Linked DNA regions of Homo sapiens: region 2 is linked to region 1. The links are contacts of gene promoters, found by promoter capture Hi-C in blood cells and fetal thymus (Javierre and others, 2016). All regions are on one chromosome and are shown on one strand. The core of a region is centred on a gene start or on the middle of the fragment in contact, and the rest is flanking DNA. Distances in the headings are between cores, read along the strand shown. Region 1 holds the start of FASTKD1 (FAST kinase domains 1). Region 2 holds the start of METAP1D (methionyl aminopeptidase type 1D, mitochondrial).

Evidence for each region. Contacts are between HindIII fragments. The CHiCAGO score rates a contact against its expected background, and 5 or more counts as called.
Region 2: a contact is called between the fragment with the promoter of METAP1D here and the fragment with the promoter of FASTKD1 in region 1, in 2 of 17 cell types (non-activated CD4 T cells and total CD4 T cells). The highest score is 9.2, in non-activated CD4 T cells.

The regions. Positions count from the first base shown.
Region 1 is chr2:169,570,711-169,577,827 of GRCh38, forward strand. It overlaps FASTKD1 (FAST kinase domains 1), which reads right to left and starts at 3,155. Exons shown (of 15, transcript NM_024622.6): 1 at 2,959-3,155; 2 at 943-1,461. The coding sequence starts at 1,319. RefSeq lists enhancers at 2,737-2,906, 2,762-3,364, 3,267-3,366. The HindIII fragment of the contact is 12,279 bases long and covers 1,087-7,117 here.
Region 2 is chr2:171,997,028-172,004,144 of GRCh38, forward strand. It overlaps METAP1D (methionyl aminopeptidase type 1D, mitochondrial), which reads left to right and starts at 2,926. Exons shown (of 10, transcript NM_199227.3): 1 at 2,926-2,982. The coding sequence starts at 2,943. LOC124905590 (a long non-coding RNA gene) reads right to left here and starts at 2,882. Exons shown (of 3, transcript XR_007087296.1): 1 at 2,652-2,882. RefSeq lists a silencer at 2,621-2,920. The HindIII fragment of the contact is 8,153 bases long and covers 1-5,987 here.

The sequences.
Region 1 (7,117 bases), core at 1,905-4,404:
TGTCGCCCAGAATGGAGTAGAGTAGCATGATCTGTGCTCACTGCAACCTCTACCACGTGAATTCAAGAGATTCTCCTGCCTCAGCCTCCAGAGTAGCTGGGATTCCAGGTGCCTGCCATCACGCCCAGCTAATTTTTGTATTTTTAGTAGAGGCAGGGTTTCACCATGTTGGCCAGGCTGGTCTTGAACTCCTGACCTCAGGTGATCCACCCACCTCAGCCTCCCAAAGTGCTGGGATTACAAGTGTGAGTCACCACACCCGACTGGCATTAATCTTAAATCTAACTGCTTACCTACTATATCCTCATCTGCAGCCAACCACATTTTCACAAAACTCCACAATAATCCAATTTCAAATGCCCACAGTTAACAATAGTATTACAGTTGTTAAAGGAGAATTGCTTGAACCTGGGAGGCGGAGGTTGCAGTGAGCCAAGATTGTGCCACTGTACTCCAGCCTGGTGACAGAGCAAGACTCCGCCTCAAAACAAAACAAAACAAAACAAAAAAATTAGATTATCAGGAAAACTACTGGTGAAAAAAATTATTTTTCATTTTGAAGAGATTTTTAGACCTGGCACAGTGGCTCACGCCTGTAATCCCAGCATTTTGGGAGGCCGAGGCATGCGGATCACAAGGTCAGGAGATCAAGACCATCCTGGCTAACATGGTGAAACCCCGTCTCTACTAAAAATACAAAAAAATTAGCCGGGCGTGGTGGCAGGCGCCTGTAGTCCCATTGACTCGGAAGGCTGAGGCAGGAGAATGGCGTGAACCTGGGAGGCAGAGCTTGCAGTGAGCCGAGATCATGCCACTGCACTCCAGCCTGGGCGACAGAGACTCCTCAAAAATAAATAAATAAAATGAAAATAAAGAGATTTTTAGAAAATTAAAATGTAAACTATATAATCATTCCATAAAATATAAAAGTAAATTACTTACTGTTGTGTGACGTATAACACATTCACCAGGGTATCGTCATTCATTAATTTGAATTTATTTGTAGCTAAATTATGAAGAGTAAGAAATTGAGGATGGTCTCTGACATACTCAGCATTTTTTAACAGGCTGGTCTTCTGCTTTTGAAGCTTCCAAAGCATATCAAATGCACATCCCACTTGCTTTTCTGAAAGTATGGCTTTGTTTCTTTCAATAAAACCAAACATTTGCTCCTCATCTGTACACTTATTCATCTGAATAATTAGTGGTTCACAACTGATGGGTCGAAATTGAAACACTCTCCAGGAGAATGGACAAATAGCTCTTAGACGAAGCATATTTGTAACCAATGACTCTAGGAAAACAGGTGTTTTTTTCATTTATATCACAAGTTTTCTTAGGTAAACAAAACCATCTGCAACTAGTCGTCAGGTGCAATAAGCAGGGATACAAATAACAGTTTTTCCTTCATGTATTTTGCTTCCATTACAATGACTGTAAACGCATTCCAATGTACAGCTTCTATAAAAGAATTGGTTTAACATGGTTATGCTTACATCATTAATATCAAAATGATTCCAAAATTCAAATTAAAGTAATACATTTTTTCTGCATTAACTAAAGACTTTTTCTTAGTCTAAACCAGATAGCAGAATTTGATCAAAAAATAAATGTCCAGAAAAAGGGGCTTCTTTCTGCACCCCATTTTAAAAGTGTTTTAAATCTGACATTTACATAAAGTTTTCAAATTTACCATAAAAGGAAAAAAAAAGCCCACAAACTCAGAGCTGTCTTTTCGAAAAAGAGGAAAATTGTTTAAAATAAATAATCACCTTCAAAGTTTCTAAAAAGTGTAGGCATTAATTCAGAGCCATATATATTTATACATACATATATATATACTTTTTTTTTTTAATTTTTCAGAAGTATGGTCTCAGGTTTATTTGCTTTCAGGATAATTTCTTGCCCCTTTTTCTTGTGCCCTTAAAGAGCTCAAATAATTCCTTTCTTTAGAAAATAAATAAATAAAAGAAGTCATATAATTTAATCATTACTGGCCTTGGATAGGTTTTAACCAATGAACGACACAATTAAAGCACCAATCAAGAAATACTAAGAAATTAAGTAATGTTTCAAGTCATGCTGAAACAATAAAAGAACTAAAGATAATTATGAAAAAAGAATAATTTGTTTTAAAAATATGCTATAAATGTTTACATTTATAATTGAGAAGTAATGGTTAGAAAAGCAGGGACTAAAGTCATATAATCTAATATTTCTGCAACATGTTACCATTTACAAAGAACGTTTGAAACACATTATCTCATTAAATTCTCTCAGCTAACCTTCCAGGTTGATATTATTTCCATTTTACAGATAAGGCAAAATAGGTTCAAAAAGGTTTAAAAAATCCTTCTAGTACTAGTGAAGCAGGGACTACAACTCAGTTCTTTCCACTTGAACAGCTTCATTACACAAACAAATCAACGCTGTATCACTAAATTCATGTCTCAGACCCCTCTCTACGGCTATGCCAAACAGTCTGTTCACAAGAAAAAACGACGCGACAGTACAGGCTATTTTGTGGCAAGCAGTACAGCATCCTGACCTAAGCTGACCTGGGTCACAAACCTGCACAAGAAAACCCTGCACAAATCAAAGGTATCCTCAAGATACTATATTCATCCACTGAGCTGCTCAAAGTGGAGGCAGCTCAATGGTTAGCATAGAAAGGTGTCGAGTCCCCAGCTTTGCCCCAGCTGAATGACCTTAAGGAAGGAACTTAACTACAGGAAGGGCCTTGGGACCCTAAGGGGTATCTTCTGCGCCGGGCATAAAGGAGAGCTAAACAAATGAGTGAATGAATGGGGTCTCAGCCCTGCCCTAGTCCATCCGCACTTCAGAGAACCCAATATCCCGAAGGAAGCCTCCGTATCTCAACTGAACCCTATGTCCCCAGCCCGAAAACGTGCTGGGTGGGAAAAGAAAAATAGCCGCTGCCACACAGTCCCGACTTGCCAGCAAGGTTTTCCCTCAGCGCGCCGCAAATTTTCTGGAGGATCCTGGGGTTATGAAAGCTCAGAAGTCAGGGTTATTCCTGGTCCCAACACGGAACGAAACAGGCTCGGATGTCTCGCCCAACCCTCATATCTCAGGGTTTATAACCTTTCTTCGAGAGACATGACCTTTCCCATGAGACCTTGCCCCCAAACCAGGAAAAAATGCCCGGCAGGCGCAGCGTGCACTGCGGAAGTCACGCACTACATATCCCAGGGTGGGTCGCGGCGAGGTGGGTGAAATGGACGTCGCTCACGCATTTTGGGGGAATTCTGGGCATTGTAGTTCCTCATTGAGGGAGGCTCTAGCGCAGTACACAGCTTAAGCTGTTGAAGAAGATATAGGTCGTTTAGGTGATTCTCTACTATCTAAGGTTGTTCTCCTAGTCCTTGGAAGTCTACTACTTTTATAATATACACAAAAATATACTTAGGAAAATGAAATTTAAAAATGTAAACATGGAAAAGACACGTACAGATTTTTCTTATTATTTTTTAGCATATACGAAATAACTCTGTCGAGTAACTTTGAAAGTATGCAAACTCATACTCTCAGTTTCTGCACTTATGTCGTGGATAGGTACCAGTTCTCAGACCATATTTTTTTTTTACTTACCATGGTATTTTAATAGTCCCAAGATTTGACACTTGACACTTAAAAAAAAAATACCACTAATAAATAACCAAAGTGGAATGCTTACCAAAGTTACAACAGACATAATTTTCAGCTGATAATCACTACAACAAAGTAAGGCTCTAAAGGTACCAAACTGATATTTGTTGGAATATGCTGTGCAACTTTCTTTTTTTTATTTTATTTATTTATTTTTTTTATTGATCATTCTTGGGTGTTTCTCGCAGAGGGGGATTTGGCAGGGTCGTAGGACAATAGTGGAGGGAAGGTCAGCAGATAAACAAGTGAACAAAGGTCTCTGGTTTTCCTAGGCAGAGGACCCTGCGGCCTTCTGCAGTGTTTGTGTCCCTGAGTACTTGAGATTAGGGAGTGGTGATGACTCTTAAGGAGCATGCTGCCTTCAACCATCTGTTTAACAAAGCACATCTTGCACCGCCCTTAATCCATTTAACCCTGAGTGGACACAGCACATGTTTCAGAGAGCACAGGGTTGGGGGTAAGGTCATAGATCAACAGGATAAGAATTTTTCTTAGTACAGAACAAAATGAAAAGTCTCCCATGTCTACTTCTTTCTACACAGACACAGCAACTTTCCGATTTCTCAATCTTTTCCCCACCTTTCCCCCTTTTCTATTCCATAAAACCGCCATTGTCATCATGGCCCGTTCTCAATGAGCTGTTGGGTACACCTCCCAGACGGGGTGGTGGCCGGGCAGAGGGGCTCCTCACTTCCCAGTAGGGGTGGCCGGGCAGAGGCGCCCCTCACCTCCCGGACAGGGCGGCTGGCGGGGCGGGGGGCTGACCCCCCCACCTCCCTCCCGGACGGGGCGGCTGGCCGGGCGGGGGGCTGACCCCCCCACCTCCCTCCCGGGCAGGTCGGCTGGCCGGGCGGGGGGCTGACCGCCCCCACCTCCCTCCCGGGCGGGGCGGCTGGCTGGGCGGGGAGCTGACCGCCCCCACCTCCCTCCCGGACGGGGCGGCTGGCCGGGCGGGGGGCTGACCCCCCCACCTCCCTCCCGGGCGGGGCGGCTGGCCTGGCGGGGGCTGACCCCCACCTCCCTCCCGGAGAGGGTGGCTGCCGGGTGGAGACGCTCCTCACTTCCCTGACGGGGCGGCTGCTGGGCGGAGGGGCTCCTCACTTCTCAGACGGGGCGGCTGCCGGGCGGAGGGTCTCCTCACTTCTCAGACGGGGCGGCCGGGCAGAGACGGTCCTCACTTCCCAGACGGGGTCGCGGCCGGGCAGAGGTGCTCCTCACATCCCAGACGGGGCGGTGGGGCAGAGGCGCTCCCCACATCTCAGACGATGGGCGGCTGGGCAGAGACGCTCCTCACTTCCTAGATGGGATGGCGGCCAGGCAGAGACGCTCCTCACTTCCCAAACGGGGTGGCGGCCGGGCAGAGGCTGCAATCTCGGCACTTTGGGAGGCCAAGGCAGGCGGCTGGGAGGTGGAGGTTGTAGCGAGCCGAGATCACGCCACTGCACTTCAGCCTGGGCACCATTGAGCACTGAGTGAACGAGACTCCGTCTGCAATCCCGGCACCTCGGGAGGCCAAGGCTGGCGGATCACTCGCGGTTAGGAGCTGGAGACCAGCCCCGCCAACACAGCAAAACCCCATCTCCACCAAAAAAATACGAAAACCAGTCAGGCGTGGCAGCGCGCAGGCACTTGGCAGGCTGAGGCAGGAGAATCAGGCAGGGAGGTTGCAGTGAGCCGAGATGGCAGCAGCACAGTCCAGCTTCGGCTCGGCATCAGAGGGAGACCGTGGAAAGAGAGGGAGAGGGAGACCGTGAGGGAGAGGGAGAGGGAGACCGTGGGGAGAGGGAGAGGGAGAGGGAGAGGGGGCAACTTTCTTATTGTGTGGGTTACAGAGGAGACTCTTGGTTTATGTGGTCATGGTTATTGTCATAAAACCAGTTTTAGCACAATTTTCTTTTCTTTTCTTTTTTGAGACAGGGTCTCACTCTGTCTCCCAGGTTGGAGTGCAGTAGTGCAATCTCCGCTCACTACAACCTCCGCCTCTTGGGTATAAGCGATTCTCCTGCCTCAACCTCCCGAGTAGCTGGGACTACAGGTGCACACCACCATAGCTGGCTAACTTTTTGTAGTTTTGGTAGCGACAGGGTTTCCCCACGTTGCCCAGGGTGGTCTCGAACTCCTGGGCCCAAGCAATCCACCCACCTCAGCCTCCCAAAGTGCTTGGGATTAGAGGCATGAACCACCTTGCCCAGCCTAAATTTTCAATAGTTCTGACAGTCTATGCAAAATGTTGAGGCATGCTCACACTGGAAAAAAATTAAAACTTGAAGACTTCCTTCTAGAATGTCCAGTAACCAATATATATTTATTCTGACATTTCTGAAAACAGAGCAAAACGAAATTGAATAGGTGCTGGCATTCATCTGATGTATCAGGTTTATTTTATGACTGACTAGTCTTAATACTCCTAGATGTCGGGGTGTATAGGCAGCAGAACATTTTAAATTTGTTCAAGTAGAATATGGGAAAAATTAGAGTCAAATGAGAATACATTTTTTGTCTACTGTCAGTAACCTTCAATTAACCATGAAGACATAGGGAATGAATGGTTAAGCCATCAAAACTAAAATAGTTGTTTGTTTGTTTTTTCGAGATGGAGTCTCAGTCTGTCACCCAGCCTGGAGGGCAGTGGCCCAATCTCAGCACACTGCAATCTCCACCTCCTGGGTTCAAGCAATTCTTCTGCCTCAACCTCCCAAGTAGCTGGGACTACAGGCATGCACCACCATGCCCAGCTAATTTTTGTATTTTTAGTAGAGAAGGTGTTTCACCATGTTGGTCAAGCTGGTCTCAAACTCCTGACCTCAAGTGATCCCCCAGCCTTGGCCTCTCAAAGTACTTGGATGACAGGCGTGAGCCACTGCACCTGGCCTGATTGGATTTCTTCACTAAAAACTTGATTGGTCATTTGACTTCCTTTATCAGGAGGCTGCTAAGACATAGAAAGTCTCTGATAGCTGGGTCTTAAAAAAAAAAGAAAAAAGAAAAAAAGAAGTTAACTTTCGTTTCAAGTCTTGTAAAATTTCCTAGCTTTCTTAGGTTGCCAATATTTACATTGGGGAATACGGTCTACTTCACTTTTTGGTTTGGAGATGAACATTTACTCATTAAAAAATTGTTTCCCTCAACCAAAGAGCCGTGGTTTTGAGATCTGATACCAATGATGTCCTCGTGAGTTTTATTGCTCTTCTTCTCAAGTTTTTTTTCTCAATTAAAGGTACAGCCAATCCCATGGCTTGCTTGGTGATTTGTAGCATCTCTGCAATGCACCAAGGGGTATTTTTTCCATCATCTTCGGGATTGCGAATTATAGATCTCAATGTGTGGAAATAGCCACCTGCTTCTTGATGTCTGCAGTGCAATCGCAAGAGCAATAGGTTCAGGACCTATTCCTATGTTTTCTAGGTCTTCTAGACTTAGCCACTGACACTGGTTTACTTTATCAACT
Region 2 (7,117 bases), core at 1,676-4,175, 2.4 Mb after region 1:
TTAACATTCAAGAATGAATTTTTGGACATAAACTGAAGGTATTAAGTTATCCTTTATTTCTTGAACCCTGGTTTTCAAAAGTTATTCAACTTTTTTTTTTTGAGACAGAGTCTTGCTCTGTTGCCCAGGCTACAGTGCAGTGGCACAATCACAGCTCACTGCAGCCTCAAACTCCGGGGCTCAAGCGCTCCTCCTGCCTCAGCCTCCCAAGTAGCTGGGACTATATGCATGTGCCACCACATCTAGCTAGTTTGTAAATTTTTTGTAGACACGGGGTCTCACTATGTTGCCCAGCTGGGTCTCCAACTCCTGGGCTCAAGCAATCCTCCTGCCTTGGCTTCCCAAAGTGTTGGAATTACAGGTGTGAGCCACTGCACCCGGCCGAATTATTCAATTTTTTATTCAAGAATCCTAAGTACAAAATCTGACTAATGGTAAGAATTCAAATCAGTGAAGTGCCATAATATAATTAACCTTCATTTCACAGATAGGAGCACGGACAGAAATGGAGTAGAGAAGTGACTCAGTAGCGGTTACTCATCTAAATAAAAGCACTCTAATGCTCAAGATCACAGAATGTTAAAATTGCAAGGGATCCTAGATATCAGTGATCTAGCCCTTTATCTTGTTGGTCACTATGTATATATCCCTTTTTTTTTTTTTTTTGAGAGAATCTTCCTCTGTGGCACAGGCTGGAGTGCAGTGGCAGGATCTCGGCTCACTGTAAACTCTGCCTCCCAGGTTCAAGTGATTCTCCCGCCTTAGCCTCTGAGTAGCTGGGATTGCAGGCATGCACCACCATGCCTGGCTAATTTTTGTATTTTTAGTAGAGACAGGTTTCACCATGTTGCCCAAGCTGGTCTCGAATTCCTGACCTCAAGTGATCTGCCTGCGTTCGCCTCCCAAAGTGCTGGGATTACAGGCATGAGCCACCACACCCAGCTTATATCCCATAAGTTGATGGTTTTGGCGGACATGTGCTGGCAGCTTTTAACCCTTCTGCGGTGAGAAGGATGTGTATGAGAGAAGCCAGATCCAGGGTCAGTGGATGAGCTATCACCTGTGCAAGTTCATATTTGCTTCATTTCTAGCTCATCCCAGATATCTACATTCCATGCCGAACTTATTGAGGATTTCCTCACTGGATTCCACTACTGCTGGTGCCACCTGGGTCCTCATAGTGTTTCCTTTTCCTTTTAGTTGTAGGGGAATAAAGCATTCATTTATTTTCCAAGGGTTGGCTGAGTTAAGTCACATGAACATGTGTTCTATTTCAGATGGGTTTGAAACTAGGCTTGATGCCTTAAGGAATAGGGATGTCTAGATTTCTTTTTTCTGTACACTGCTTAAGACTCTGTGGCCAGCTAACTCTCAGGCTCCTTTGCTGCACTCAGATTGCTGGCCTCAGTTACACAGAGGACAGATTTGCCACATTCAAAAATGCTCTCCCTGGAATTGAAATGAGTTTGCAAAAGGTAGGAGTACATTTTATTCTCATTCTTGTGCATCTTATTTACCCTGATGGAAAGCATTACTTCTCTTTATCTTTCAAGGTGACCCAAAAGCATCCAAAACCAGGTTTTCCAGAATTATAGCATGTGTCCTCTAATGAAATGCCAACATTCACTCTCTTTAAAAGTAAAAATATCAAGATTATATAGTCATTAAAAAGAATAAGTCTGAACTAAGTGTTCTAAGATTTGATGCCTATGATGACTGGAATGGAAAAAGCAAGTCATATGATTCTATTTAAAATACTTACATTTGCCTGTGTGTAAAAGGCAAAGATCTCAATTGAGCACACGGTGGTTAACTGGGGAGTGGGACTATGGTATGTACAGAGGGCGAGGAAGGGGCTTGCACTTGTTCCTTATTTCTGAATTGTTCTGAATTGTCTAGATTATTCACTGAGTGTGTAGTGCTTAAAAATTAATTAGAAGACATCACACACATTCACTGAGAATCCTAATCAATCTTCACTGCATTTAAAGTCTGGAAACGGTTACATTCTCAGTTTGACTGGTTTCATGCAGTGTTCAATTGCTTCACCTGACATTCCTCGGGTATCGGGTTCTGTGCCGGGCACGGAGGCTACTAAGATGAATAACACCTGGTCCATGACAGGATGGCATCTACCCCAGAACACAGGTAAGAGAGACAGTGAATTTGGTAAAAATGGGCACCGTCATCAGTAGGCATACATCAGCTCCCTCATCTGATTCACAATTGGCCTTCTGTAGGCTTCTTCTCTTGGCAATGCAATTGGCAGGCGTCATCCTTTTATACTTAAACTCCAAATTTAGGATTAAGACTCCAGTTAATACTGCCAAGCAGAAGGCGTCCTTGGAGAAAGAGAAGTCTCCTGAACATACCCACTGGGGTACCTAGAATAGATTTTGCAGCGACACACAGATCCTGTGTTGTCTGGAGTCTCTGCTGAGTAATGTAGATTCTGGGACAGCAAAAGGGGAGCTGGTGACTTTGAACCAAATTTTACCTTTCAACTGAATCCAGGGGAATAATTTGCAACAGAGTGGCAGACGATACAAAGTGCTATGTTGAACACTAGATTGTGCTTTATTTTTTCCGCCCAACTTCACGTTTCCATGCACCAAAATGTTGATGCTATAAATATTGGATGCCACGCTTACCTGACAGGCTTCTTCCATCCCACCTGGGCGCGGGGGCTCAGAGCGAGCGCGCGAGCCGCGGCTGGAGCCCGCCTCTCGCGGCTGGAGAGGACTCAGCCGGCCGCGGGTTCTGCTGCTTGCCCGGGTGCCCTAGCCGCTTCCCAGCCAGGGCTCCCGCAGTCAGCCCCGCGCGCGCACGCGCGCTCCCCTCGGGCGGCCTCGACGCCTCAGGGCTTCGGCAGGGCTGCGACTGGCCGGCTCCAGCGGGCGGGGCGGCGAGCGAGTGCTCGCGGCCACGTGACCGACGCCAACATGGCGGCGCCCAGTGGCGTCCACCTGCTCGTCCGCAGAGGTAAGCGCGTGGAGGAGAGCCCCGTGAGGGTTCGCACGGTTGCTCACTAGGTACGCACCCGGGTCCAAAGGGATGCGCACCCGCGCTCAGACTTCTCGGCGCACACGACTGTACTTTCAGTGTTTACGAACACACGCAGGCACACACGATGACACATTCACACACCACAGGATCACACATACAAATTTGTTCACTGATCACCCGCCTAGAACACGTCACCACGTGGCATCTTTTCGCAATTACTCCTTGAGATTTGCGGGCCATTGTCTGAAGTTTTTTTCCCCAACTTCGGTTGTATCATTAGTGTAACCAACATTTATTCTGTATGCCGAGCAAGGAAACCTATGGTAATTCTGAAATGCATCTGGACACCCGGTTCCCTTCCCTAGAGCTTTTATGCAGGCATGCTTTTTGGGGACTTGCAAAATGTGATGGTTTTCTTCCAGTGACTTAAAGTTAAGAAGATAAGAAAGGATGTCTGGGTAGTTCTAAGTAGGTTTTATCCTGCGTGAGTGTTGAGATTTTAGTAAATATACAAATGCCTTTGCAGCAGAATTGGGGAAATCTTTGTTGGATTTGAACTAGGTGCTGAATCTTTGTTGGAAAGAACTAGAAAGTTTTTCCAAGGACGGGGGAAGAGGAAAACTATCATATTTTGAGGAGCTACTTAAGCGTCAGGCATGTAGGAACAGTTTTGTGAGGTAAATATTATTTTCATAGTAACAGCTACTGTTTATTAAGTGCCTTTTAAGTACACGATACTGTGTTAAGCGCCTTACATATGCTTGCTTCCTTTTAAAACTCAATGAATGAGACCCCGTCTCTACAAAAAATTTTAAAAATTAGTCGGGCGTGGTGACACATGCCTGTAGTCTCAGCTATTCTGGGGGTTGAGGTGGTAGGATCGCTTGAGCCTGGGAGGTCAAGAGGCTGCAGTGAGCCGTGATCGTACCACTGAACTCCAGACTTGGCAATAGAGCCAGACCCTGTCTCAAAAACAAAAACAAAAACCCAGTGAGTTAGGAATTATTTTCTCTTTGCAGAAGGGAAAAGTAAGGCTAGAGAGGTTAAGTAACATTACTAAGGTCGCATAAATGGTAAGAGGCAGATTGCTCATTTGAACATGACTCTAATTTTTTTTTTTAAGACTCATTTCTCGGTACTGCATGACGTGGTCACTCCATAGAAGTCAGTGTGTAAAGTTCAGCAGAGACAGTGCAGGATGAGTGTGTACAAAAAGTGAAGAGAGCCTGGGCACGGTGGCTCACACCTGTAAACCCAGCACTTTGGGAGGCCGAGGCAGGTGGCTCACTTGAGGTCAGAAGTTCAAGACCAGCCTGGCCAACATGGTGAAACCCCGTCTCTACTAATATACACAATTAGCTGGGCGTGGTGGCGCATGCCTGTAATCCCAGCTACTCGGGAGACTGAGGTAGGAAAATTGCTTTAACCCAGGAGGTGGAGGTTGCAGTGAGCTGAGATCATACCACTACACTCTAGCCTGGGCGACAGAGCGAGACTCCGTCTCAGAAAAAAAAAATAAATAAAAATAATAAAAAATAAGAAGTGAAGAGGAAGATATTTTTAGAGAGGAAGAAGGTTGGTAATCGAATAGACTTCAGTATTTCAGTGTTAGTGGAGATGAGAAAGGGGCCACAGGAAGATTTGAGGGGAGAGATGTGTATGGGGAAGGTGATGTAGCGAGCATTTTGGACTGGTTGCATGAAGGAATGGACATCAGCATGAGAGTGTAGCCTTGTGAAAAGACAGCCAATTTACATCTCTCAAGATCTGGGTGCCAGGCCTGGCAAGGTGGCTAATGCCTGTAATATTACCCAGCACTTTGGGAGGCCAAGGCGGGCAGATCACTTGAGGCCAGGAGTTCAAGACCAGCCTGGCCAACATGGTGAAACCTGTCTCTACTAAAAATACAAAAATTAGCCAGGTGTGGTGGCACATGCTGGTAATCCCAGCTACTTGGGAGGTGGAGGTGGGAGGGATCGCCTGAACCCAGGAGGCGGAGGTTGTAGTGAGCTGAAAAAAAAAAAAAAAAGATCTGGGTTCCAGTCCAAACTTTCTTTACTAATTACTTTTCTGTTTCCTCTTTTCACAAGAAATCATGGCTTTTAGACTTCATTTTTGTATGCTTCAGGTAATGGTGAGAAGGATCTGAGGAGATAGTCAATGTAGAGGAGGAGCCAAAAAAAAAACAACCTGAAAACATACATAGGTGTATGTATGTATATATATATACACCTATGCATGTATAAACGTATTTTTATATGTGTGTATATATGTATTAGGTTGGTACAAAAGTAATTGCAGTTTTAGAATCAATGACAAAAACTGTGATTACTTTGCACCAACTGTATATATAACATCTCTTTGCAGATAACAGAAATAGCATTAATCTTTTCTTTCTTTTTGATCACTTATTATTTTGACAAATGGTGGTTTAGACAGTCTTGAGAAAATATATTATATGGAAGTCAGGCCAAGTTATTGGTTCCTATAATCCATCCCACTGTATCCCAAAGTGTTGCAACAACCAAGAAGTGGATCCTCTGATTAGAGGAGAGAAGAAAAATGTGTCATCAGGAAGCTATTTTAATGATGGAGAAAGGGCCCCTTTTTGGACTACCCATAGCTAGTTTTAAATTGCAGAGAGGTTTTCCTGCTCCCCACCCCCAAGAATTGAAAATGAAGGGTAAATTCACGAAGACTCCTCTCTCCACCCTCTTCCTCCCTTTCACCCATCTAGATTTATGTAAAGCAATCCATTACAAGTCTTCATGTACCAGGATTTATTATCAGCATTTATGAGCATCATTTCTTCTTGAAATAGAGGAAGACTTTTTTTTAACCTTTTAAAAAAGGCATGAGGTTTCTCTTGTGACGCCTCAACTCATTGTGGCTTTGGTCACAGTATACCCTATATACAGTAGTTACCTAGCTCCTCTCACCATTTCTGCTCCTTACTAGATTATTAATTCTTGTTGAACAGAAGCTTTGTCTTATGTATCTTTCTGTCTTTATAAGCACAGTACCTGGCTCAAAGTTAAGCTCATTAAAAGTATACAGAATTGAGAGGCTGTTAAGATTTGTTCTCTTCCATCATGGTCTAAGGAGGGTTGGGTAGAAACTATGAGTAGTGACATTGGAAAGAGGAAAAGACAGATCAGCCTCTTGGAACCAAGAGAGAAGGTAACAAGGGCCTTTAAGGGACTAAAATACTCCCAAGTATTAGTGCTGGCAGGAAATCCCTTCCTCAGAGTACAGAATCCCTACCCTGGGGCCCCAGGAACTCTCTCCTATCTCAGTCTCACTCCCAGCCCTCGCTTCACTGGAATCCCAGGTCTAGCTCGGGCCACGAAGCAAGATCCCAGTGAATATGAAGAGGAACAAGGAAATCTCAGCTTGAATTGTAATAATCCCCATGTGTCAAGGGCAGGACCAGGTAGAGGTAATTGGATCATGGGGATAGTTTCCCCCATTCTGTTCTTGTGATAATGAGTGAGTCTCAGGAGATCTGATAGTTTTATAAGCGTCTGGCATTTTCTCCTGCTTGCACTCATTCTCTCTCCTGCCACCCTGTGAAGAGGTGCCTTCTGCCATGATTATACATTTCCTGAGGCCTCCCGAGCCATGCAGAACTGTGAGTCAATTAAACCCCTTTTCTTTATAAATTACCCAGTCTCAGGAATTTCTTCATAGCAGTGTGAGAACAGACTAATACAGCAAGTAAGAGGGCATATTTTCTTTCTTTTTTTTTTGAGACAGAGTCTCGCCCTGTAGCACAGGGTGAAGTGCAGTGGTGCGATCTTGGCTCACTGCAACCTCTGCCTCCCGGGTTGAAGTGATTCTCCTGCCTCAGCCTCCCGAGTAGCTGGGACCACAGGTGCCCACCACCACGCCTGGCTAATTTTTGTATTTTTAAGTAGACACGGGGTTTTGCCATGTTGGCCAGGCTGGTCTCTCTTGAACTTCTGACTTCAAGTGATCCGCCTGCCTCAGCCTCCCACAGTGCTGGGATTACAGGCATGAACCACCGCACCTGGCCATTTACTTATTTTTAACAAATATAAAAAAAACTTAGAAGTACTTTTGTTCACTTGTGACTGTAAGGCCCTAGACT